3 separate regions of the Homo sapiens genome follow, and regions 1 and 3 are each linked to region 2. Evidence: promoter capture Hi-C in 16 types of primary human blood cells and fetal thymus (Javierre and others, 2016). All regions are on one chromosome and are shown on one strand. Each heading gives the region's core, a stretch centred on a gene start or on the middle of the fragment in contact. The rest is flanking DNA. Distances are from core to core; before and after follow the strand shown.

What was found. The method cuts DNA at HindIII sites, captures the fragments that hold promoters and counts their contacts. A CHiCAGO score of 5 or more calls a contact.
Region 1: a fragment that was not itself captured here is called in contact with the fragment with the promoter of VANGL2 in region 2 in 3 of 17 cell types (fetal thymus, erythroblasts and activated CD4 T cells); the score reaches 7.1 in fetal thymus.
Region 3: a contact is called between a fragment that was not itself captured here and the fragment with the promoter of VANGL2 in region 2, in 2 of 17 cell types (erythroblasts and M1 macrophages). The highest score is 5.4, in erythroblasts.

The regions. Positions count from the first base shown.
Region 1 is chr1:160,676,539-160,680,896 of GRCh38, forward strand. It overlaps CD48 (CD48 molecule), which reads right to left. Exons shown (of 4, transcript NM_001778.4): 4 at 2,208-2,593. The coding sequence ends at 2,514. Among named protein-coding and RNA genes, the nearest start is that of SLAMF1, 32 kb to the left of the region's middle. The HindIII fragment of the contact is 1,041 bases long and covers 2,036-3,076 here.
Region 2 is chr1:160,398,308-160,402,425 of GRCh38, forward strand. VANGL2 (VANGL planar cell polarity protein 2) reads left to right here and starts at 2,257. Exons shown (of 8, transcript NM_020335.3): 1 at 2,257-2,562. All of the region lies in intron 3 of LOC105371466 (a long non-coding RNA gene), which reads right to left. The HindIII fragment of the contact is 3,661 bases long and covers 356-4,016 here.
Region 3 is chr1:160,137,952-160,142,137 of GRCh38, forward strand. ATP1A2 (ATPase Na+/K+ transporting subunit alpha 2) reads left to right here. Exons shown (of 23, transcript NM_000702.4): 21 at 1,689-1,790; 22 at 1,942-2,033; 23 at 3,343-4,186. The coding sequence ends at 3,371. Among named protein-coding and RNA genes, the nearest start is that of ATP1A4, 12 kb to the right of the region's middle. The HindIII fragment of the contact is 4,223 bases long and covers 286-4,186 here.

The sequences.
Region 1 (4,358 bases), core at 1,306-3,805, 280 kb after region 2:
GGCTTTCACAGAGTGTTGGGAGAATGTGTATGCAACAAGAAGTAAAATAAAAAAGTTAAGTTGGGTTTTCGCAGCGTTTTCACACTTCCAATAAGAACAAAATATATATGCATGCATGAGCCACGAAATAGAAATTGAGTAATTGCAATGATCCCAAATATGAATTAAATATTCTATTTTCATTTAAAACTAATGTTTTAAAATATAGAAAGTAAAATTCATGATAATTTAAGTTTTTAATTTGCCTTTACTTAGAACAGCATTAAATAGCAAGCAAATAAAAAAATACCATCTCAAGTAGAGAGACTGTGGAAGAAAAGAAAAGGCTTAATATTTCAGTACTTTTATTGGCACATTTTCCTTGCTTTTTGAGCAAGGGGAGCCAACATTTTCATTTTGCACTGAGCCCCACAAATTATGTATCTGGCACTGCCTTGAGGGATGGGAGGAGCAGGGAACCGTTGGTGTCTGTGACCTGAGCCGTCTAAGGTGAGATTTACCTCAGGTTTCCAGTAACTGGAAATAATACAAATACAATGTCCGCAGAGGCACGCTGGTTCCTCAGCAGCTGAGGAATGTGCTTATTTGTGACAGAAAGTGGCATTTGTTTCCTTCTTACTGCTTGTTTATCCCATTCGCGCTCGCGCGTGTGTGTATATGTGTGTGTGTGTGTGTGTGTGTGTGTGCGCGTGAAATTCCCCCCAAAACCCTCTTCTTCCACTGAGAAAAGTGAGGGGAAGGAAAAGGGTGCTGCTTACAGAAAGGGGATGGAAATGGTCCACCTGTAGGATGCAGGATACTCAGAGGTGAGTTTGGATGGAACTGCAGGCTGCTCAGAGATGAGTTCAGATGGGGATGCAGGCTGCTCAGAGGTGAGTTTGGATGGGATGCAGGCTGCTCGGGGGTGAGTTTGGATGGGGATGCAGGCTGCTTAGGGGTGAGTTCAGATGGGGATGCAGGCTGCTCAGAGGTGAGTTCGGATGGGGATGCAGGCTGCTTAGGGGTGAGTTCAGATGGGGATGCAGGCTGCTCAGAGGTGAGTTCAGATGGGGATGCAGGCTGCTCAGAGGTGAGTTTGGATAGGGATGCAGGCTGCTCAGGGGTGAGTTCGGATGGGATGCAGACTGCTCAGAAGTGAGTTTGGATGGGGATGCAGGCTGCTCAGAGGTGATTTTGGATGGGACTACAGGCTGGGCTCAGGGTGGGGGGTTTCTTCGGAAGCCCAGGCTGTCTTGTGGAAAAGACAAAACCCTACCTTTCTTATCATGCTTGTGCAATGTAGGGCAGGCAGCTGCCTTCCAAACAATGGCTCCGATGCAGTTCCTTGCATCATATAGCCAGACTTCCGAAGTCCTTCACTCCTGCCACATCCATGCCGCCCACTTTCTATTGGACAGATTTCATCACATGGCTCCAGCTAAACACAAAAGTAGCTGGGAAAAAGAGTTTTTTCACTCACCCAGGGGAAAATGAGAAGGTTTGGCAAACACATAGCACTGTATCTGTCACCGAGGAGATGGGGTGAGGAGGGAAGGGCCACGAGGGAGATGGGGGAGGCTGGTCTGGTTTGAAAGGCAAGCAGTCTGTGGTGGGCAGTTTTCTGAAGGGGAAGTGCATTCTGTAGTGACCCTTTCAGCTCCAGGCACATGAGGAGACTTAGAGGAGGGGACATTAAGCAAAAATCCCAGGTGTTATGTCAGTGGTGGGCCTGGGGGCGCCTACCTGCATATAGTGGACAACTCTGGTGAGAACACTGTGTCGATCTGATGGTTTTTTTGGATCCAGTGAAACGACTAGGAGTTGAAGACTTGCCCACACAGTCAATGGAAAAGAGGAGAGAGAATTCAGCTCCCTATGCGAGGCTTGTGGGGCAGGAAGGCTTCTTATGAGATAGAGCTGCATCCTTCCTTCTGCGAGAGCAAGCCTGAACCTATGTTTGCAGCAGACTTAAGGAGAGTGGTCCTCAGAGGGGTCAGAGCAAGGCAAGCCACTGGGAAGGAGGCAAAGGCTTGGCAGGGGAGCTGGAGCCCCAGGAAGCTTAGCATGGATGTTGGAATAAGGGTCAGAAGTAGCACAAATTGGCTCCTCAGCTGTGTTGACACACAGGAGCCGGTGGCTCCAGGCTCTCCCCTCTGTGTCTCCAGATTCCAGTTTCTCCCAGCTGATGGAGCAGGCACTGTCTGACAGATTTGGGACAACTTCAGGAATTCAGTTAATTGACAATTATATCAAATGTTTATTTTAAAAAATAATAAAACATTCACATAATGTTGTCACAATTTTGGGTGGGAAAAAAGCATGTGTATCTCTATATCTCTGTGTACTAGAAAACAACAAAGGGATATAAAATTAAATAATAACCAGTATTTAAAAGTTAACTTGAAAATCCTCGTTGATAATTCAGCAGCATGCTTCTGGTCAGCCTATACAGTCTCTGTCCTGGTGAGGAGCATGATCACCAACAGGCAAGATCTTCTGGCCTTGAAGTTTCGCTTGAGTTAAAAGAGCTCATCTCAGGTAAGTAACAGGCCAAGAATGGTGGGCACCGTGACCACTAGCCAACTTGCAATCCATTCTACTCCAAAGGACCGGGCTGAAAGAGCAAGAAAACCCTATATGCTTAGGTATCTTTATCTTGACTAATGTATTGAGAAGGGGCAAGTGTACTGGACACTGGTGTGGGAGCTCACAGAGCAGGGAAATTAATTTCTTCCCTGAATCCCATCCTATTTGGCTGGGACATTCTTTTCCTCAATCTCCCCAAACATAAAGTATAAAAAATGCAGAAATTCCTTAAATATCACTGGCTTACCTGGGCCCTGTGCTCAAAGGTTACCTCGACATATCTGTGGCCTGGGAAAGCATTGCTCCCCTACTCTGGACATCAACGAGGTAGGGTAGATCTTCAGGTACAGACAGATGACCACATGATACAATGCACAGCTGACTTTAGAGAGAAAAGGACCACTTCCTTTCCTTGTTTCTCTACCCCACTAAGTATCTGCACCAACTAGGAAGAAGAAGGGAAGAGAAAGGAAGACAGAAAAGGAAAGGAAAAGAAAAAGGATGGAAGGAAAGCTTAGATGCTGGGGTGGGGAAGGGCTGAGCTGGAGAAAATAAAAAAAAGGAATGAGTGATACAGTAGGGAAAGGAGTTTGAGGGGGCTTTCTAGGATAATTTCGGTGACTAAAAAGTGACAGATGGGTTTACCCTTCCAAAAAAAATGGATTTATTATTGCTTTTATCCTCTCTTCGGATGAACAGTCACACCCATTTTATAGAGGACAGGGAATGTGCGTCTTCCTTTTTCTGGATCTCAGGATGTGATATTGATATGAGGGTGGTGTTGGAACCACCAGCCAAATTGTGTTCTCATGGTCAGATACCACACTGTCACAGTGGGTCTGTGGTGGCAGAAGAGCAAGGCATATCAGGAGAGGCTGGTAGAGACAGGGCCAATTAGTTAGGAAGAATAAGGAAGAGCATACACAGTCTCCGTAGTCCACATGTGGGAGTAGAGATAAAGAAATCAGTGCAGTTAAGGAGGGTAGACAGAGCCCAGGAAGACCACAAAACAGCAACGTTCTCAGAGGCCAGAATCCCTGATGACTGGGCATGACAGGGGTCACAGGTGAATGTGAGCACCTCAGGTCTGAGTTATTCTAGAAGAATGTGTACGCTAGGGCTCAGGGATCTGACTTCAGGATTGTGGAGGGTATCTGACTCTGGTATTTCCCAGAGTGCTGGAGATATTGATCCAAGTTTATTAAGGGTCCCCAAAACTCTAAGAGACTGCGTCTCATTTAGCTCCCGCTTACTAAGGACTTGTCAGCCACTGTGATAGGCAGTTACGTGTCTTGTCTCATTGAATCCTTAGCACGAGATAGGAACTGTTATTTTGTCCTTTATTTAGGAAGAACATGACTTGGGGAAGCTAAGTAACTTGTTTAGCTAGTAAGTGACAGTCCTAGAAGTGACCCCAGGTATGACTGACTCTAAAACCCATGGCCTTAGCTGTCCCATGCTAGCACCAGTGTAGGCCTGATCTAGAGCCAGGTGTGACACTCATGAGTGGATCCTCCCAGGAGACAGGGGAATCTGGCTTCCTAAGTTCATCTAGGAACATCAGGCTGGGGAGGAGAAGCTTCGCCTGAGGCTCAGGCTCTCACGCCTCCTCGACGGCCTCTCTCAGGCCCGTCTCCTCAGTCCCTCTTTCCCTGGCTGACTTTGGCGGTCTAATGACCTCGGTCCCTCTTTCCTTGGCTGACTTCGGCTGTCTAATGAAGCCCCTCTAGACAGCTGCTCGCCCACTTGCCCTTCCTTCTCCCTGCTCACCCTGATGTTTCAGTCTACTCTAT
Region 2 (4,118 bases), core at 1,007-3,506:
TCAGTGCTCTCCTTCCTTCTAAAGAATTAAGCTAGGTCCCTTAGACCATAGGGCACATGGGCCTTCTAGCTGGGTCTCTGTTTGCTTACTCAGTGACTTGGGGACGTGTGAAATCCAGATGGGATTCTATCCTGAGGTGAAGGTAGAAGGTAATACAGAGAATTGCTGAATGGGACAGACCACACCAATAAAATTTTTTGTTGGACTCTGTAATCCAGTGTTTTCATTGCAGAGATGTAATTGAAAGCCCCCAACCTCACCGTCAGAGAAAGGAGGGACTAAGCTTATTCTAGCCTGATGCCTGATACCTGTTAATTGGGAAGCCTTGTCTGTTAACATCCTGACTTAGGTTTCAAGCTTTCAGTGGGGCCAGACTATGGAATTATCTGTAATTCTGGCATCAGAAGCCCTTTTTCCAGTTCTTTGGGCCATTTTGGGGTCTGTGAAACAGGCTAGCAGCATGTGAAGATAATTCACACTAAATCTGCCTGAGAGTCAAGACAGTGCCACGGCAGCCCCGACTCTGTGTCAAATTACACACTAGCTGCCTAGCACTGGGGTGTGCTTTGGGGCAGGGCTGGGGACACCCATGTCCTCCCTACTTCCCTTAACCCTTCCCCAGCTCTCCTGCCACTCCCTCATACACCTGGTCGTGGTCACTGCCAGGAGCCCCAGTGCGGCCCAGTGCCTGCACATGATAGGCACAAGGTGAATGAGTGCCTGGACGCATGCAGGGACTTGGGTACCTGAAATGATGATTCTGCATATTTCATGTAGTCTTGATGCTGAGTCACCTGCTTACCCATACTACTGGAGGAGGGGATGAGGAAAGACAGAGTTTGGGCAAAGGAGAAAGGAAGTGTGTTTTACTGTTCTGCATCTTTGAACAATGCAGCATAGTTGGTTCTGTCCTCATCTTTGGACAGGTTAGAATGAACCATCAAAAGGGGTGAGATTAGGTCTCAGGAAATAGTTTTCATCAGGGAGGAGCAAAAATTCCCAAACAAGTGAGGAACAGAGGCTGGGAGTCTCTTTCTCTGGGATTCCTTAATCACAGGGTTGTTCAAGCAGGTGCCAGGATTGGAAACTGAAGGAGGCTGAGATATTGAAAAGGCCTTGGCCTGCTTAGGGAGAAGTATGTGAAGATGCTTTTGAAATGATACTACTCTAAGTGGCGGGTTGCACGGCAATAACATTAATGATAATTGAATACTGCTTTCACTTACTCCAAGGGGAACATGGACTTCCCACAGCCCAGGCTTTTACGGTGTGGGTTCACTCTTGTAGGGTCACATGTAAAAGAACCCTAACTGGTTTCTTGGCATACTGGGAGGCACAAATGCCCCAAACGTGTAGGATATTTTGTGAGATCCTACAATCCCTGTGTGGCACCTTCAACTCTAAAGTATCTGAAACTCCTGGGATGGACAATCTGCCTGCTTGGGGTTGGGGACCCAACTGGCCAAGGCATTTTTCCTCTTGGAGGTTTCCTGGGAGAAGGCCCCCTCTCCTCTGCCATTCAAACTCCCAGGCGCCCGCGTCTTTTCCTCCTCCCCTTCTTCCCTAAGGCAGGGTTCCCTTTGTAATTAATCCCAACACTCAAACCAGAGGGGAGGAAAAATGTGTTAATGAGGGAGCGTCCCAGACTGACTGGGGCGGTCGCTGCTCGCAGCTAGAACTCCAAGTAATTAAATTATTTTTGGAAGGAGGGGATATGGTGGTGATGGTGTCAGGGAAATCCCCGTATGCATGGGAAGAGGCGTGCGCCTCTCGCCACTAATTAAAATCAGGGATGACCCTCCCTTCTCGGACCCCTAGGGGGAAAAAAAAAATCAATCTTCCCACGTCCCAGATTCCATTGGATTTTGTGTAGTCGGGTCCGTGGCCCTAAAGAGAATATGGCCAGCCCCAGGGATCTGGGGGCTCCTTCTCCGACAGGAGGGGTCCAGGAAGACAGCCCCAGGAGGGACTGCGGGCTGGGCCAAGTCCAAGAATCGAGGCATTCCCCTGCCCACCGTTCGGGACCCGAGTGTCAGCCCCACCGCGGATTCCCAGGATCGGGGAGGGCCGCTGGGCATCTGAAGGCGCAGGGCTGGGGGAGCGGCGACTCCGGGAAGAGCGGGGCCGCAGACAATGGACGCGGCGGTAGGAGGGGCGGCGGCTGTGGGAACAGCCGGGAGGCGGCACCCGGGAGCTCGCGCTCCCCCGCCCCCTGCACCCCCCACCCTCATCCCCTCCCCCTCCGCCCCCTCCCCCCTGCGCCGCCGGCTCCCGATCTGATTCCTGATCCTTGATTCCTTGATCCTTGGTCCCGCCATGGGAGCCTGAGCGCCCCCTATTCCCCCCTGGCCCCCAGCCCCCGGGGCCTTGAGGGGGAAGAGGCAGCGGTCTGGGACGGAGCAGGGGGTGACCAGACTCAAGAACCCCCCCCTCAACATCCCCCATCGCGCGCGCTGCCTGTCCAGGAGCGCCGAGTTCGGAGCGACCCGGAGCGCTGCGGATACAAAGGCGACGGGCCGAGCGGGGCGCCCGCGGAGCCCACCCGGCAGTTCGCAGCGGCGGGTGAGTGCCGGGCCGCGGGGGCGCGGGCAAAGTTTGAAAAAAAAAGAAGAAAGAAAGAGAGAGAAAAAAAGAAATGGAAAAGGAGGAAAATCATGCAAGGGGCCAGGGGGTGCCCGACCCCAGAGCGAGCGGGGTGGCTTATGGGGGAAGGGGGGCTGGACTCCGGGCAACCCCCTTCCGGTCCGCTTCCCCACTGCACAGCGGAGTACCCCCCCCAACTTTGGGGAGGGGAAGGGGCTCGTGGGGAGGGGGCGGAGCCCAGGCCTGGAGAGCCGGGGACTTTCCTGGGCCCGGGCGGGGGCCTTAATGATCCCAGGGGAGCCGGTTGAAGCCGGAGACGGGGAGCTTGTGTTGGAGGTGGGGGGAGAGGCGTGGAAGGATCGGAGTCTGGAGGTATTGGAAGCCAAGGGTGTTTTGGGGTGCATACACCCCTCAGGAGCGTGGGGAGGGACGGAGGCAGGTATGCGTTAAGGGTGTAGAGTGGAGTCAGGGGGGCGGGTTGGGCAGAGTAGATAGGGTGTATGTACAGACCGAGGATGGGGCTGGAGGCGGTAGACTGTGTATAGGGGCCGAGGGGACAGGCGCTGGCATCCCTCTCCCCACTCATATTTACCCATCTGGGGGACTGTGGGCTCTGCGTTAGTGAGTTTTGAAGGGTTGGTGGAGGATCCGTGTGCATGATTCTTTGTTTTGGTGTGTGTGCACGCCTTGACGTGCTGCATGTTCCTGCAGGTGGGCCCCTGGTTTGGATGTGTAGGTGTTTTTCTGTGCTTGAGTGTGTGTGCACCCAGGGAGCGGCTGACCATGCATCTGCTGTGTGTTTGGATATGTGTTTATATGTATACTTAGGGGAGGGCGTGTATGTCTATGTGTGTGTACTGGGAGAGGGGTTCACGGGAAAGAGGTGTGTAGGTACTGAGGAAGGTGGGTGTGTAAGAGCAGAATGGAGTGTATGTGGATAGGTGTGTGTGCACCTGTGTACTGGGAAGGGGTGTGAATCTGTGTTCTCTTGTGTGTAACCTGTGTTGATGGGTATCAATGTGTGTGCCTGCCTTAGCTGGTATGTATGTTTCTGAGTGTGTGTCGGGGGTACCTCTAGACTCTGCAGGCAGATTTTCCTGGCAAAAATCCCGAAAAGAAGGCTGTCTGCAGGATTTTGAGACTTCGTGGATGGCCTCGCCTGGGTTTAGGGGTAGTACCTTAAGTATCTGAGACCTATGGGTGGGAGGGAATGAGTTGTCTTATGAAGTGCCTGTTTTTGGGGGATGGGTTTTTCTGGAAGAGGGCGTGTGTTGTGGGGAATAGGGAACAAGGGGTCTGGTTGTAGTCCTAGAGGAATTTGGAAGATTGGCGGGGTCAGGGAGAAGAATAAGAGGAACTTCCTCCCCCATCGTCATAGGCTGGGTTCCAGCGCTTGGAGAAGCTACACTCTTGGATTCCCAGCCTTAGGTAAAAGCTTCAGGCCACAGTTCTCTTGGAAAGCCGTCTCAGAGTTTGCTGCTTCATAGCCTTCTAACTCTGCCCTGACTCTAAGATCCTAAAGTTCCTGAGGAGTC
Region 3 (4,186 bases), core at 1,147-3,646, 260 kb before region 2:
ACTAATGGAAAAAAAATGCAATTTGAAGAGAACAAGGAGCAGAGAGTCTAAGAAATTGGGTATAATTCTGGGGCCTGGGACTTGCTATGCACTGCAGGGATGACACACGAAGGTGGGAACATGGCCATAGTGGCTGCATCCAGCCCATCTTAGAGGCAAATGGGAAAAATGGCAAATGAAAATCAGGCTGGGTACAGAGGAAGAGTACTAATACCACCACAGGCCTCACCTTAGGTCCCTGGGCCACTGGGGATCCTCAGAGATGCTATTTGCCTTATTTTGAAAAGCTTTATGAAAATAAAGCACTCACCTATGCGAAGGCAACCAGGCTTACTAATGTGTCATTCTTAGGCAAAAGCCAAGAGCGCATATCATGACGTGGTGATCGGATGCTGATTCACAGTTCTGTCTGGAAGCCATGGATAGTTCTAATTAATTTTAAATGGGGAAATGTATTCAATACTTATTCACAAATGTAGCTTGAGAGACAAACAATTAAATGTGGCCTTTACAGAAGAAAATAAGGAGGTCCTTAGTGAGTGAAAATTTGGAAATCACTGGCTTGAACCAAAAAGAGGTACCTTGTGTAAGAATACAAAAGATGGAGTAGCCGGGGACAGTGGTTCACACCTGTAATCCCAGCACTTTGGGAGGCTGAGACAGGAGAATCAATTGAGCCCAAGAGTTTGGTACTAGCCTGGGCACATGGTGAAACTCTATCTCTACAAAAAATATAAAAATTAGCAGGGCGTGGTGGCACACACCTGTAATTCCAGCTACTGGAGAGGCTGAGGCAAGAGGGTCACTTGAGCCCAAGAGGTGGAGGTTACAGTGAGCTGTGATCGTCCAGCCTGGGCAACAGAGTGAGACTCTGTCTCAGAAAAAAAAAGTGGAGTAATAATGTGACTGAACATTTTCCAGGTCTGTCACTGAACATTTCAGTGACAGAACATTGCAGAGCTTTTCACGTGTTATCTCCCTTAATTTTCCCAGCAACCCTATGATAAAAAGGTAAAATCTCCATTTGATAGAGAAGGAACGTGAGGCTCAGAGAAATTCAACATTGCCTGCAACCCAAAGCTAGTCAATGGCAGAACTGGGAATAGACACCACCTGTCTGACTGCAGAAACTGCCCTGAGAACCTCCTTATTCTATCCTGCTTTTCAATTCTGATAAAGTGAACATATATTAACCACTTATTATGCAGTGATCCCCTTTACATTCTCTGAATTAAATATCTATAATGAAACCACCACCAGGAACTGTGGGAGATGCTGAGACGGTAGAAGACATACATGGGCCCTGCACTGAAGGAGCTTTCAAGCATCTTGCTGGGGAGACACACTTTCATGGGCCCTGTGCCTGGAGCAATAACAAGATCATGAGACAGGCCCCATGTTGACCACCGTGTCTCCAGTACAGAACACGTCACCCAACACCTAGAAACAATTATTTAATGAATGAATATACGTGCAATAGACAACATTCGGACGTAAACTCAGTAAGCAGAAAAACAAATAACATCTTCCTTTGGTTACATAAAGCATGAGAAGAGGCTGTTGGAAGAAGACATGCGACTATGTCGTTTAGAATTCTCTCTCCTCTTTCCCTTGCACCCCAGGGGTATCCCAGGATCTCTGCCTCCATGATCCCCCTTCACCTGCCACCTCCTTTCTTTGCCTTTCAGGAACAAGATCCTGATTTTTGGGCTCCTGGAGGAGACGGCGTTGGCTGCCTTTCTCTCTTACTGCCCAGGCATGGGTGTAGCCCTCCGCATGTACCCGCTCAAGTGAGTGTCTCTTTCGGGCGGCCTGAGTAGTCATACGGGGGGCCTTCAGCCCCCTCCAGGATCCAAGTTCTGATCGCTTTGAATGCTCCTTTATGTGACAGCCACCAAGCCAACCTCTGATGCTGCTGACACTCTCCTCCATTGCTTTCAGAGTCACCTGGTGGTTCTGCGCCTTCCCCTACAGCCTCCTCATCTTCATCTATGATGAGGTCCGAAAGCTCATCCTGCGGCGGTATCCTGGTGGTAAGCCCCTCCACATTCCCCCCAGCAAAGTGCAAGCCCCACCACCAGCTCCTCCCTCCAGGACCACACGCAGACTCCACTCCCACTACTGGTTCCTGCTTCTGTTCCTCAACACCCTCAGATCCTGGGGTCCCAGGTCCCAGGAGCCCTGACTCTTTCGAACCTGTTGTCTCTGCCCTCTTCCCATCAGATTCTAAACCCCGCCTAACTCACAGTTGGTCTCCGAGGCCCTCCACCTTCCACCTGAAACCACAGAACATCAGAATTAGAAGGGCCTTTCCAGGTCACCTAGTCCCACGTCCATATTTTACAGATAGAGGAGGCTCAGAGGTGAATCTGTTCAGGGTCGTAAAGCAAAGAATAGCAGGACTGGTACTAGAACCCAGGCCTCCTGATCCCCACTCATCAACCGACAAGTTATTGTTTTTCCTACAAGCGTTTTTTAATCACTTAGTAGAGGTTAAAATATGATGGCTTACAAACCAAATACTGTCCAGGAATACTGTTTGGTTTGACCTGTGCCATATTTTGTGTGTGTGGGGGGAGGAGGGTGGATTAATTGGTCCGATATAGAAAATTTAGGGTCTTTCACATAAAATCTGAATTCGACTTCTCCTGAAGATCAGAAGAGCTGTTAATCCCATGTCCACATCTCTGCACAGCAAGAATGGACAGCTGCTCCCTTAGACTCTCGTTCGTCACCTGAAGAGGCCCTGTGGGCGTTTGCATTTTCACCCTCGACCTATTCTGCCCCAGCCTCCAATGTGCTAAATACAAGTCTCCCCTAAAGGCAGGTTCACCCTCCCTTCCTTTAACCTATGGCCCCAGCTCACTGGACCTCCTTCTCCTCCCTTTCACCTTCTTTTTTTTTTTTTTTTTTTTTTTTTTTTTGAGACGGAGTCTCGCTCTGTCGCCCAACCAGGAGTGCAGTGCAGTGGCACGATCTCGGCTCACTGCAAGCTCCGCCTCCTGGGTTCAAGCAATTCTCTTGCCTCAGCCTCCAGAGTAGCTGGGATTGCAGGCGCATGCCACTATGCCCGACTAATTTTTTGTATTTTTAGTACAGACAGGGTTTCACTGGGTTAGCCAGGAGTCTTGATCTCCGCCTGCCTCAGCCTCCCAGTATGCTGGGATTACAGGCATGAGCCACTGCACCCAGCCTCCTTCCACCTTCCTAAGCCACTTCCCCCAGTGCCCTTCACCAGGCTTCTCCTTCCACCTGGCTTCAGCGACCCAAGCCCCTAGGAAATTGATCTCTTGCCTCCTTTTAAGCTCATGCTGCAATCTCCACTCCCAATCTCTCTAACAGGCTGGGTGGAGAAGGAGACATACTACTGACCCCATTGGAAGAAGAACCAGGCATGGAAAGATGGGGAGCTCTGGAGGTGTTGTGGGGATGGTGATGGAGAGGGATGGAAATAACGGGTGGCATTGGGTGGCAACATTTGGGGAGAGATAATGAGGCAACTCAGCAGGCTAAGTTGCGGGGTATATAAATTGGGGTGATGACCCCATAGACCTAACTGTGAACAATCAGATTAGACACTATGTGTTAGAGTCCCCCCGACCAGATCCTTTTCCATCCCACTCCACTATGTTGTCTATTTTTTCTGAGGAATTAAGGGTTACCCCACCCTGCCCACTCCCATCCCTTCAACCCCACTTCCTACTGTAATAGATCAGCATCCAAAAGCAGGAACCCATCTAAACCAGAAGGAAGCCCTCTCAGATCACCCCAGCCTCACTCCATTTCCCACTTCCACCCCCGTTAGCTTCCTGCAGGACTCTATCCCTGGCTTCCCCTTCAGACCTTGCAATCACAAAAGGTTCTTCTGGTGAGTGCAAGAGCCTGAGACTGGAAAAGGTGGACTTGTCTCCCAGTCGAGGCTGGTAAGGGACCTTCAGGGAGAGCTGGGCAGACAGGTGGGAGATGGAGGTAGGGCTGGCTGGAGGAAGGAAACAACAAAGGAAGTGAGGTAGTGCCAATGACAGGACATTTGACATGAGTCTCCAGATAGATGTCGTGGACTCCAGCTCTACGTCCCACATTTTAGAATACCCCACCAGCAGAACAAACTCAGATCTCATCAGGGTAGCAGCAGAGGCAGGACCAGAAGGCAATCAAGAGCTTCCAGAAATGCCACACTTGTGTG